2 separate regions of the Homo sapiens genome follow, and region 1 is linked to region 2. Evidence: promoter capture Hi-C in 16 types of primary human blood cells and fetal thymus (Javierre and others, 2016). All regions are on one chromosome and are shown on one strand. The core of a region is centred on a gene start or on the middle of the fragment in contact, and the rest is flanking DNA. Distances in the headings are between cores, read along the strand shown. Region 1 has its middle 5.5 kb from the start of KRT76. Region 2 holds the start of KRT6C (keratin 6C).

What was found. Contacts are between HindIII fragments. The CHiCAGO score rates a contact against its expected background, and 5 or more counts as called.
Region 1: a fragment that was not itself captured here is called in contact with the fragment with the promoter of KRT6C in region 2 in 1 of 17 cell types (endothelial precursors); the score reaches 6.7 in endothelial precursors.

The regions. Positions count from the first base shown.
Region 1 is chr12:52,779,420-52,786,341 of GRCh38, reverse strand. No RefSeq gene overlaps it. Among named protein-coding and RNA genes, the nearest start is that of KRT76, 5.5 kb to the right of the region's middle. The HindIII fragment of the contact is 1,580 bases long and covers 3,865-5,444 here.
Region 2 is chr12:52,469,083-52,475,995 of GRCh38, reverse strand. KRT6C (keratin 6C) reads left to right here and starts at 2,191. Exons shown (of 9, transcript NM_173086.5): 1 at 2,191-2,798; 2 at 3,716-3,930; 3 at 4,264-4,324; 4 at 4,480-4,575; 5 at 4,700-4,864; 6 at 5,366-5,491; 7 at 6,106-6,326; 8 at 6,551-6,585; 9 at 6,699-6,913. The coding sequence starts at 2,259. The HindIII fragment of the contact is 8,852 bases long and covers 819-6,913 here.

The DNA.
Region 1 (6,922 bases), core at 3,405-5,904, 310 kb before region 2:
TAGGTATATCTCCTAATGCTATCCCTCCCTCCTTCCCCTACCCCACAACAGTCCCCAGAGTGTGATGTTCCCCTTCCTGTGTCCATGTGTTCTCATTGTTCAATTCCCACCTATGAGTGAGAATATGCGGTGTTTGGTTTTTTGTTCTTGCTATAGTTTACTGAGAATGATGATTTCCAATTTCATCCATGTCCCTACAAAGGACATGAACTCATCATTTTTTATGGCTGCATAGTATTCCATGGTGTATATGTGCCACATTTTCTTAATCCAGTCTATCATTGTTGGACATAGAGGAACCAACTTCTACCCTACGCCTCTATCTATCTATCTATCTATCTATCTATCTATCTATCTATCTATCTATCATCATCTATCCCCTCCAACCACCCCCACACTGTCTTCCCCAGAAGAAATGCTCAAAAGAGTGTTTTCCTGTTCTAAGAGCTTGCGGACTCACTGGTTCACTTCCCATTAGGAAGACCAAGTTGTGTTTTTAGATTTCAGGTTTTCCTTCTATATCTTTGTGAGAATACAGGCTACATGTCAGAGCAAGTATCAGTGGTAACAGTGTCACACCTATGAAAGGCTCAGTTAAGGAAATCAGAGGGTTGTTTTCCACAAGAATTTGAAAGTAGTTCAGCGCTTGCCTATGGATAATCTAGACTTGACTGCTGATGATCAAGTTTTGCATGTAACGTTTTGTGTAATTTGCAGGTAAATCTCTACATGACTCTTCTCTGTTTTGCCTAGAACTGGGTGGAGTGTTTGTTAGCCAAGCATCAGAGATCTCACTTTCTGGGATTTGGACTGCCTCTTCTCTCTGCCTTCTCAGCACTTCAGCCCATGTGTATTCTCCCTCTATGCAAAGACAAAGACAAAGACAAAAAGTGTGGGAACCTTGAGATAATCTTGGGATGACCGAGAAAAACTCACTTAAGTTCTGAAAATGCTTCTTCACACATTTTATCTGAATCTTCACTACATCCTTCACAAGCCCTTCTGGCATACACATTGTCTAACACACATCTCTGTTGTGCCTAAGATAGAGCTAATCCCCATCAACACTTCCAGTCCAGGCTGAAGGCTGAAGGTGACTTGGCTCTCCTAGGGAACCATTGATGGAGGTGTGCTGGGAGAATCTGATACTTTTGGAATCTGTGGTGATGAGACTGAATGGTGACAGCTCCGTCAACCACTGGAGAAGACGGTGGCAGGAGAAGGTGACTCTAGGTGGAACTAATGCTGTGACTCTCAGTGGGGGCAATTTTGCTCCCCAGGGAACATATAGCAATGTCTAGTGACATTTTTGGTTGTCACAAGTCGGGGAGTGCTACTGGCATCTAGAGAGTAGAAGCCAGGTTGCTACTAAACATCCCACATCACACAAGCCAGCCCCCTTCAACATATAAACAGCCAGCCTCAAATGTCCACAGTGCCACTGCAGAGAAAGCTGTGCCAAACAAGAGGTCGTCTCATTCATTTCTCTCCTTGGGAGAAGATCTTTAGTTACAGTGATATGGGTTATAGTTGAACTGGATAGAGATCCTTGTGGATTTGAGGGAAGTATGTATTTGTAGAAGTTTTTTTTTTTTTTTTTTATGAGATGGAGTCTCGCTCTGCCACCAGGCTGGAGTGCAGTGGCATGATCTCAGCTCACTGCAACCTCCACCTCATGGGTTTAAGTGATTCTCCTGCCTCAGCCTCCCGAGTAGCTGGGACTACAGGTGCATGCCACCATGCCTGGCTAATTTTTTTTTTTTTTGTATTTTAGTAGAGACCGGCTTTCACCATGTTGCCCAGGCTGGTCTCGAACTCCTGAGTCAGGCAATCTGCCCGCTTCGGCCTCCCAAAGTGCTAGGATTACAGGCATGAGCCACCATGCCTGGCCGAAGTTTGTTTATTTTAAAACGGAAATGCCCTTTTATTCTGGATGAAGACATAGGAAAAAAGCCAAGGAAACAGTGTGGCCTTATGTGGAGACTTTCAAGACCTGTGCAAATGGCCTACAAGGTGCCTGCAGTTCTGGTATCAACCTGGCTTTCTCACGCCTCTGTGCCTTTGATGCTCTGTTCTCTGTCAGGAATGCTCATCCCGCCTTCACCCACTTGCCCTGCCTCACTCATCACTGAGGATTACCCAGGCACTGCCTTCTGAAAACCTTCCTAGACCCTCCATGGCACTGAGCATCTGTCTGGACTCCCATGGGACTTTGTCTATCCCTTTTTATCATGTGCCGTATTATATTAAAATGACTAGTTTCAGTGCCTGTTCTCCACATTAAGATAGAAGTTACTCGAAGGGATGGCTCTGCCTGATTCATCTTTGTGCTCCTCAGTGACCAGCAAAATGCCTGGCACATAGCAGGCACTGTGAGCTTCACTAAGCTAATGAGATTTTGAAAAGGGTAGGGTAGACTCTTAAAGATAATTACTGCCCTGACATATTTAACAAAAACAACTGGATTAAACAACTAACTTTTGTGACTAGTGCAAGTCATATTCTGGGCATTTTGCATATGTCATCTCATTTCATCCTTTGCAACTGCCATAAGAGGCAGGCGGCAATTATCCTCATTTTCTAGATGAGGACACTGGCTTGGAGAAGCAGAGTAACATGACTGATGGGAAGTGGCAGATCTGGCCTCAAATCCAAAGTGTACACATGCAACTACTGTGCTATGCTGCTGAATGGGGCCGGCTGGTGTCTTCTTGGATTCTAGGATGTCCTCCCTTGTATGTGGACTAACGACTTTCCATAGTTTTGAGCCAGAAACCAAACCTGAAGTTCCTACATTAGCAGACGAGATTTCTACAGCTAAGGCTCTGTGATGGTGAGCAGGCCCACGTTTAACTCTGGGGAGTTCTGATCTCCAGACAGAGAAGCCATTGAGATTGATTGGGAGAATACCTTGATAATGATGGGTGTTCCTCCTTGATGCCACAATGGAATTCACAAAGTTTAAAACTATTTTCATCAACACAAGTTGATGCTTCAAGGCAGATCTGACCATTACCTTCTAAGGTTGGGGTTTTTTTTTTTTTTTTTTTTTTTTTAACATGCAACACAAATGTATTATTTAAAGGTGCATCTTGATTACCTGTTTGGTGAGCAAAAACAAAATACGGTGGCTCATGCCTGTAATCCCAGTACTTTGGGAGGCCGAAGCGAGTGGAGCACCTGAGGTCAGGAGTTCAAGACCAGCCTGACCAACATGGTGAAACCCCGTCTCTACTAAACATTCAAAAATTAGCTGGGTGTGGTGGCAGGCGCCTGTAATCCCAGCTACTCGGGAGGCTGAGGCAGGAGAATCTCCTGAACCTGGGAGGCAGAGGTTGCAGTGAGCCTTGATTGTGCCACTGCACTCCAGCCTGAGCAACAGAGTGAGACTCCGTCTCAAAAAAAAAAAAAAAAAAAAAAAGTGAAAGAGAAGATTGTGGCTAATCATTCCTGTGGGCCAAGTGGTCAACTCCAACATCTAAGACCCAGCAAGCAGCTAAGCTCAGCGCAAACTCCTGGCCTCTTGCTCTTTCTCCAACAGGGTGAAGACCTTTTACATTGCAGATGATGGAGCGGCTCTTGTCATCTATAAATTCCATGCACACCCATGTGTTCTGTCCCTGAGAGACTGTCCTGACCAGTGCCTTGGTGGCCCTGGCTAGCATGGTAGGTTGCACATGGCTGGTGTCCAACCTATCATGTGGTGGTCAGGTGGAGAGAATATTGGTGGGTTCTTTACATGTCAAAGTGGACTTTTCACTTTGGGATGGTGTAATTTGACTTGCTGAAAGTCTATGCAGAAGAAAAGCATTCACGAATTTACGACAGGCTTTGGGATTGGACAGTCTGATTAAAATCCAAGCTTGCAAGTGAATTGACTTGAGGCAAGTTAATTAACCTCATGCCCTTATCTGTAAAATGTGAATGAAAATTCCTACCTTACAAAGTTTTTGTGACAATTAGAAATGACACATGTAAACAACCTGTCAGTGACTTGTATATGTTAGGCAGTCAATGTTAGCTGTTTTAAAATTCTATTCACAGATGGGCAATAGGAGTTAAGATTTGAAAGAGGAAATTGTTTTCACTGAAACATAGTCCCCACACCTCTAAAAAGTATGTAGTAGATCAATAAGTATTTGCTGATTGATAGATTGCATTACTGACGAGGCCCTGTAGTGGGAAAATGGCTTGGCCAGACATGGGAAAATGGCTTTTATGTAATTCTCAATACAGACAGTATGATTCTTTGCAACTTGTTGCAAAATAATCAAAGACTTCACTGTTGCCTTGACCCTAAACTGGGCTACCCCTTAGAACTCCTCCTTCCTCTTCAGCTTCCAAACTGACACCTTCTAGGAGGGCTTCCTACATTGACATCATCATCACAAGGGCTGCCAAGTGTTGAGCACCTGCTTTGTGTAAGGGTTTTCCAACTTTACCTCCTACAGTCCCCACTGCAACTCTATGAGGAGGCTGTGCTAACTCCCATTTGCTGAATGGGAAACTGAGGTCCAGAGGGTAAAATGTCTTGCCTGATGCCATGCAACTGGAAAGTGGCAAGGCTGGGATCTGAACACAGGCTCGTCTAATTCCAAGGCTTCCATATTTTCCACTCTTTCAAGCTGCAAGGGAAGAGAGGAGGAGATGAAGTTATTTGAGTTCCAGAAAATCCAGCATGCCCATGAAATATCCACGGTTTTTGGAAATATTCAGCCAAATCCATTTATTGGTGAGAAATATTCATTGACAGGAGAGCTTGTCTTTAGAGAACCTGTTCAGTTTTCGGCGTCCCAGTGCCCTTCTTGCTGCATCTTCAACCCCAGGCCTTAGTCTGCTCTCAGTTTCCTGCTATCTCACTTGGAGCAAGTGCTTTCTCTCCAGGGATGAGGAGCTCACTTGGAGCAAGTGCTCTTTCTCCAGGAATGAGGATGTCTCCTTATGCCCTAATCCTCTGATTGGTCTATCTGCACTGGTCTATCTGCACATTCTCATCCATCCTGGATGGCTAGTTGGACTAGCGTTTCCCGAGTATACTTGACAGCATGTTAGTAGATGTTAAGATAGAAAGATTTTGTTGTTAAATTTGGGAAGCTGTGATTAAATTAAGGCAAAGACATTATTTTCTATAGGACTTCTTTGGGCTTTTAATATACTAAACAACTTTACTAAAATCCCAGGAAAGAGCTATAGATTTTTCATTTCCCAAATTTATGTAATCACAGAACCTTTTAATCAGGGCCATCTTGGGAGATAGAATTCTGCCCTGCATAAGCCCTGGGAGAGATCCAAGTACCAGATAAAGAATGAGGGGTGAGCTGGTGTGTATTTTAATCAAGTGTAGAGATAAGACCAGAATCAGAACAAATTGTGGTTGCTAACAGCTAAGACCTTAGTAACATAAGGACTTAGTTGTACTTAGATGTTTGCTTCTTTATCAAGCTTTCACTATAAATCTTGCTCTATATGGTAATTATTTTTACTGTTCATTGGTTAAAATTGCTTCACTAGTGACAAGCTTTTATTTCAACAAGAAAAGAATGCTAATTCCTAGTCCAGGGGCAGCATACCCAGAACGTTAATTATTCTTTTTTTATTTTTGAGAACAAATTGGTGATTATCTTGAAAATGGGATCTGCGAACCTCCATGGAGAAAGAGGCAGCAGCCATGGCTCCCTCATCCTCAGCAGATGGTGGTGGAGAGGGATGACTGCTCACTTTGGCCAAGGATAATGACTACTGTCTCATGATGCATTCCTCCACTCATAATTATGTTACAGGCAATCTGAAGTCTTCTCACTGCAGTTGACTACCAGAGAGCAATTTGGTTAGAGGGAATAACTCCTTGGTTTTAGTGCCCCCAATTTTATAGGTGGGGAAATAAAAATCCAGGGTGCTCAGCCATCTGGCAAGCTTTACACAGAATGTTCTGGCAGTGAGGGATTGGAACTCAGATTGCTGGCAGTAGGCAGACCCTTTAGATACTGTTCTGAAAGATCCTACAGTGAATGAGGGCAATGTTGGTGAGGATAGCAACTCTGGGTATTTCCAGCAGCTCCATTCAACTGCTGAGAAGACAATCCCCATCTGCTAAATAAGGTGATGCTTTGGCAGGCTCATGCGACATGGATTAGGCGACCCAGCCCAAACCCGCGCTTTTGTGATCTGTGCATCACCTTTCTCCACCACGCTTCTCCAGCCTAGGCCAGGGTGGCAGAGGTGAGCCACACATCAGAGGCTGCCACCCACCACCTCAGTACTGCAGCCAAGGGAGGGAAGGGAATCAGAGACATTTATGTCTGTTCTTGTTTGCTTCGGACTCTCACCTGGAGCTTCAGCTGAGCCTGGCTCAGCTTTCTTTCCAGGAAGAGCATGTGATCTTCTGCTTTTAAAGGATCCAGAGGATATGAGGAAAGACCTTACCAGGAGGGGCTGTCATTCAATTGATGGGTGGAGTATAAATGTCTCATGGAAGAACTCAACATGAAATCCTCTTCCTGGATTATCTGTGGATGAATGATGTTAATTTAAAAATCCAAACATATATTGCTGAATACTATGTATTTAAATTTCAAAACAATCCTGCAAGTAGGATCAATGCCACCTTTTAAAAATAAGGAGAGAGAGAAGTCAAGTACCTTGTCCAAGGTCACCACATAGTGAGAGGTAGACATAGGATTTGAACCCAGGTCTTTGGAATTCCATGATGATGACAGGTTTTCTGTTATACCACAGCTATCTTACTCCTGTGTGGAATTTTGTGATTTTCAAAGGACTTTCACTTACATTATCCTGCAAGTCTCACCACAAACCAGTAAGGTAGGAAAGTGTTTGGCAGATTAGAACACAGACTTACGTTAAATCGTGGCACAAGGTCACCCAACCCAACCCTAGTCAGTATAAGTCTCAGTCTTTTCTATCC
Region 2 (6,913 bases), core at 942-3,441:
TGTGTTTTATATATATATAATTTTAAAATATTTTATATATGTATGCAAATTTAATATATAAAACACACAGACAAACCTCTCTCTGTCTCTCTTTAGCTATAATTCACCTATACAATACCTTTCTAGGGGCCTTACTCTTTACATATAAAACTCCCCCTCCTCTCTCACCCTCTGTCTTCTCTCTCATACACATACATATGCACACACACACACAAATACACAAATCTCACATATTCCCCAGAAAAAGCTCAGAAACATATCCAAGTAAAGTTACTAGAAGGATACACAAGGACCTGGTAACAGTGCCTACTTCCACATAAAAAGTTTGCATGGCTGGGGAATGGCTTTAGTAAGTATTTTCTCCTTAAACATTTATTACATATTCAATTTATAAACATATAAATGAATGTGTAAATAACAATTTTCAATTTTTTTATTTTAATTAATTTATTTTTTTGAGACAGAATGTCACTCTGTCACCCAGGCTGGAGTGCAGTGGTGCAATCTCGGCTCACTGCAACCTCTGCCTCCCGGGTTCAAGGGATCCTCCCACCTCAGCCTCTGGAGTAGGAGCTGGGATTACAGACAAGCACTACAACACCAGCTAATTTTTGTATTTTTAGTGGAGATGGGGTTTCACCATGTTGGCCAGGCTGGTCTAAAACTCCTGACTTCAGGTGATTCGCCCCCCTCGGCCTCCAAAAAGTGCTGGGATTACAGGCGTGAGCCACTGCGCCCGGCCAATTTTCAGTATTTAAATAGGCATTCTACTACATCCACATCTGGAAAGTCTAAGTATATGAGAGTCTTATTAAGCTTCAAGTTTTAATGATCAGTTTGCAGGAAATATAGAGGACACAGTAGCATCTTAAATGAAACACTGTGAGTAAGCAATGAGGAAATCCCAAAGACTGAAACACTACTCAGGACAATTAACCTGGTCTTATCAACAAAAGAATTGTAAACAATAAGGAAATAAATGAAAAAGGACATTGGAGAATTGAATAGACACATTGATGTTAATAAATACACAAATTGGCTGGGAGCAGTGGCTCATGCCTGTAATCCCAGCACTTTTGGAGGCTGAGCCAGGTGGATCACCTGAGGTCAGGAGTTCGAGACCAGCCTGGCCAACATGGCGAAACACCATCTCTACTAAAAATACAAAAAATTAGCCGTGCTTGATGGTGGCCACCTGTAATCTCAAACTACTCAGGAGGCTGAGGTGAGAGAATCTCTTGAACCTGGGAGGCGGAGGTTGCAGTGAACCTAGATCGCACCACTGGACTCCAGCCTGGGTGACAGAGAGAGACTCTATCTCAAAAAAAAAAGAAAAAAAATTACCCTTCCCCACTGTCCCCTCTACACCCCCTCTCTATGCTCTTTTCTTCCTAGTAAAGCATTACTTTCTTTCTAGCTCAGTGATGCCACTGGATGTGATGTCTTCTATCTCCTTTTGTGTTGTCATCTTTATTAGAGTCAACTCCTTGAGGGCGAAGACTTAATAAATACATACATTTTTAAAATACAAAATAATATTTCAGTTATATTTCTAAAAGGTCTATCATTTAAAGATTAATATTGAATTAATATTGAATTAAATCCCAAATATTTTTGGGATTTAAAAAAATTTAACATTGATAAGGGAACCGGGTGGAAATATACAAGAAATAAGACTGGCCATAAGGTAATCATCATGGAAACAGGTAATAGGTATATACAGGCCCATTGTGTTCTGCTCCTCTACATGTTTGAAATTGCACACAGAAGGAAAAATAATTACAGGAAAAATGTTAATATTTCTGTTAAGGCATTTGCAATACAGTGCTTGTGATCTCCAACATCTCTGCTGGAAGAAAGTCAGGCTGGAAAGAGGAAAGCACTCACAGCATGTTGATAAACAGCCTAGCATGCAGAACCTTTGCTGAAGACAGTGACTAACTTCAACTTCATGAACTGAGAATGCTCTTACTGTGCTGAAATCTCGAGTCAAAGCTGGAGGCAGGAACATTTTCCCTGACTAAAGGAAGTGAAAAATGCCATCTCAGCATTTCATAACTTTTCTGATCCAGGTGTGATCTCACTATTTGTAAAGCCCAGCCCTTCCCAACCTGCAAGCTCACCTTCCAGGACTGGGCCCAGCCCATGCTCTCTCATAATATATAAGCTACTGCTGGAGCCCGATTCCTTGTCCTGCTTCTCCTGCCTCTCGCCTCCAGCCTCCAACGCTCGCCACAGCCCTCTCATCTCCTGGAACCATGGCCAGCACATCCACCACCATCAGGAGCCACAGCAGCAGCCGCCGGGGTTTCAGTGCCAACTCAGCCAGGCTCCCTGGGGTCAGCCGCTCTGGCTTCAGCAGCATCTCCGTGTCCCGCTCCAGGGGCAGTGGTGGCCTGGGTGGTGCATGTGGAGGAGCTGGCTTTGGCAGCCGCAGTCTGTATGGCCTGGGGGGCTCCAAGAGGATCTCCATTGGAGGGGGCAGCTGTGCCATCAGTGGCGGCTATGGCAGCAGAGCCGGAGGCAGCTATGGCTTTGGTGGCGCCGGGAGTGGATTTGGTTTCGGTGGTGGAGCCGGCATTGGCTTTGGTCTGGGTGGTGGAGCCGGCCTTGCTGGTGGCTTTGGGGGCCCTGGCTTCCCTGTGTGCCCCCCTGGAGGCATCCAAGAGGTCACCGTCAACCAGAGTCTCCTGACTCCCCTCAACCTGCAAATTGACCCCGCCATCCAGCGGGTGCGGGCCGAGGAGCGTGAGCAGATCAAGACCCTCAACAACAAGTTTGCCTCCTTCATCGACAAGGTGAGCCAGTGCCATGCCCTCCATCGGGCACTTCAGGGTCCCCAGACCAGAAGAGCAACACCTTCCTGCTAGGGAGACCTAGGAGGGAGGGAGAAGGGGATTCAGCCCAGCTCTGCAGAGAGTGCAGGTGGCTCTCGGTGCACAGGAGGCAGCACAGATGGGCATCACTCCCCCATGGGATCTCTGGAGTGGCCCTCACTCCTGCCTAGGGAGAGCCGTAACTTTTCATAACCCTGAAGCACAGATGAGGCCATCAGAGAGTGGAGTAGGTTAATTCTCCCCTCTGAAGTGTTTAAGAGATTACAAAGCAAATGCCAGGAGTATATGGGCTGGTAAATTACACTCTGGGGTCTGGGTAAGAGGAAAAAGATTTAGAAAGAAAAGGAAAAGATAATCTGGCTGGATTAAGAAAAAAAGGGACATAGAAACAACTGTAAAACATGGATAAATGCTAATTAATTTTAAAAACAGAGAATGACCATAACATCAGAATATTTGAGAGGAGACACTAAATGGGAAAGTAGACTGAAATGTAATCATGAGTCAACATATAATATCTCTCCTAACTAAGATCCTATCAGTAAAAAAACTGTGTACAATATATCAGGTAATTAGTATTTTTAAACTAGATTTGTGATTGTGCCTGGAAAAAGAAGAGAAGAAATGTTGAAACTCACTGATGATCAATAGCTTACAGCGTGAGAACACCTCAATGGTCCATGGGACAATTTCTCTAGTGAGACTGGTGGGGTGCAAAGGAGAAGGGGTTGGGGGAGCAGAGCTCAGCCTGAGCCTCTCCACATGCACTGTAGTAGCCCAGCACCATGGGGACCTCCAAGACCTGCCAGGAAACTGGATACCAGACACTTTTTCTTCCTTCCTTTGCCTGGAAAATGACCATCTTGCTTCCCTTCCAGGTGCGGTTCCTAGAGCAGCAGAACAAGGTTCTGGACACCAAGTGGACCCTGCTGCAGGAGCAGGGCACCAAGACTGTGAGGCAGAACCTGGAGCCGTTGTTCGAGCAGTACATCAACAACCTCAGGAGGCAGCTGGACAGCATCGTCGGGGAACGGGGCCGCCTGGACTCGGAGCTGAGAAACATGCAGGACCTGGTGGAGGACCTCAAGAACAAGTGAGGACTCCATTTCCTGCAGCACACACTTCAAGACTATTGGGTGACCAGGGCCAGATGTGTGTAGGATTCCTAACAACCCATGTCCATGGAAATGAAAAGCACAAATTAGTCCCTAGGAGCAAACCTGCAAGAACCACAGATGGTTATGGGAGGATGGGGGGATTAAAGAAGTGGCAAATTTAGTAGTAGCAAAACTCATCTCTTTGGCTCTCTGTGGCAGGAAAGCTCAATTAGAATATATTCCATTCAGGAAATTGTTGAATCCCAAGCTGCTTTTCTGTTTCATCCTACCCACTGGCTCATATGTGTCCTATGCCTTTCTTCCTGTAGATATGAGGATGAAATCAACAAGCGCACAGCAGCAGAGAATGAATTTGTGACTCTGAAGAAGGTGAGCAGATGAAGCCGGGGGTTCAAATTCATTTAGAAGGAGAGAAGTGGCTCTGTGTCCTCGCTCCCCTGGGAGAGAATTGGCAGGAGGACTAGAAGATGGGTAGATTGGAAAGGTGAGCTCAGGTAACTCCAGGTTGTTGGCTCTTTCCCCAGGATGTGGATGCTGCCTACATGAACAAGGTTGAACTGCAAGCCAAGGCAGACACTCTCACAGATGAGATCAACTTCCTGAGAGCCTTGTATGATGCAGTAAGCATCTCCACCATCCTTCTGTTTACTCTGATGGGGTCTGCAAAGGGGAGAAGATGTATAGGGTTGGGTATCTCTGTAAATGTCAGATGTGAAGTTGATCTTATGACCTTCTGTTCTGCAGGAGCTGTCCCAGATGCAGACCCACATCTCAGACACATCCGTGGTGCTATCCATGGACAACAACCGCAACCTGGACCTGGACAGCATCATCGCTGAGGTCAAGGCCCAATACGAGGAGATTGCTCAGAGGAGCCGGGCTGAGGCTGAGTCCTGGTACCAGACCAAGGTGAGCAGGGAGTGGGCAGCTGCTGAGGAATCCTTGTGTCCATCCTGGAATACCAGAGGACTGCAGACTTCACTGGGGACATCCCCTGACAGGAAGCTGGGGTCCTCTCACAGGACATGCACTCTGCACTATTAGAGTAGACATTTGGGGAACTTATGTGCAAGTCAAGGAGGAAAAAGAACCCAATGCAGGAGGAAAGCTGCCATAGACAAGGACATAGTCATCTCTGCATTTATCTTCACCCTGATTGCTGACTTTTAGAAATTGGTACAGAATATTTCTACTCCCTAAAGAAACTAGGCAGGCAGTGGTGCCATAATGAGGATCGTCTGTGACTCCAGAGTTTAGTATCCACCCACCACATAACATCAACTTTTCCTCAAGTTTCTTGAGGAGAAGCCATTAGGTCCACTTCATGACATGCATGATACACAAGTGAAAGTCATCGCTCCCAGGTAAGAACCCGTAGACACTGTCTCTCTCTCCACCTCTGGGCTGCAGTACGAGGAGCTGCAGGTCACAGCAGGCAGACATGGGGACGACCTGCGCAACACCAAGCAGGAGATTGCTGAGATCAACCGCATGATCCAGAGGCTGAGATCTGAGATCGACCATGTCAAGAAGCAGGTACAGTGAGGTGCAGTGGAGGAAAGAAGCATCATTTTTTGCTAGACCCATCAGGCAGTCATTAGCCATTATTTGATATAATTCCTGAAACGTAAACCAACACTAGGGTGAGGAACATGTGTAGTTCTTGCCCTCAGTGAGAACTCAATAGAGAAGTGAATCCCACCCAAGAGGATGAGCCTCTGAGGCACAAGCAAGGCCAGGTCTCAACAGTCAGGTAAAAAGTTACCACCTCCCCTACAGATGGTCATAATTTTGTATATTTTAATGTGGCATCCAGATGTATTCCTCAAAATCATTCTTGTAGTTTTGAAAACAGCACTCAGTACAAACCGAGCATTCATCTTCCATATGGCTTGTTTTTGGGTCCATTGTAGTGTCTCCCATAAGATGCAACGCACATTCTCATGCGGGTGCTTAATACAAGGGGCATAGGACTTTGTCACTTGACTCCCAGACTAGACAAATATTGCCAAATGGAGAAATACTGGACAGGAAGAGTCAAAGCTCATTCTCTGTCAATTTTGGGTTACAGGACCCTGGTTCACTAAACAAGGGCCAGCCTCCTCCGGAGGAGCAGACAAGAAGTTCCTTCTCTTCCTTTCCCCTCCTAGTGTGCCAGCCTGCAGGCTGCCATTGCTGATGCTGAGCAGCGTGGGGAGATGGCACTCAAGGATGCTAAGAACAAGCTGGAAGGGCTGGAGGATGCCCTGCAGAAGGCCAAGCAGGACCTGGCCCGGCTGCTGAAGGAGTACCAGGAGCTGATGAATGTCAAGCTGGCCCTGGATGTGGAGATCGCCACCTACCGCAAGCTGCTGGAGGGCGAGGAGTGCAGGTAGGTAACTGACGCGACTTCCTCCAACAGCTGAGTCCATCTTCAAGGTTCCTGGCACTGAGCACAATTCTAGGGTGCACTGCTCATGGCCGTAATTGCTCTTCTTGAGAGAAAACTAAAAGAGCAGTTTCCCATGGACTCTTCCACCCACCGAGGCTGCCCACACTGGTCCAGGGAAGGAAGAGCTCTCTGAGGTCTCACCCTCCCTGTGTTCCTCTCCACAGGCTGAATGGCGAAGGCGTTGGACAAGTCAACGTCTGTAAGTACCTTTGCTTGCCTTCCTCCCCTGCCCTCGCACTCTTCTGACTGGGCTCAGGCCGGCAGGATGAGCTCACCGTGGCTTCTTGTGTCCTTGTCCCCTCCCCACCACAGCTGTAGTACAGTCCACCATCTCCAGTGGCTATGGCGGTGCCAGCGGTGTCGGCAGTGGCTTAGGCCTGGGTGGAGGAAGCAGCTACTCCTATGGCAGTGGTCTTGGCATTGGAGGTGGCTTCAGTTCCAGCAGTGGCAGAGCCATTGGGGGTGGCCTCAGCTCTGTTGGAGGCGGCAGTTCCACCATCAAGTACACCACCACCTCCTCCTCCAGC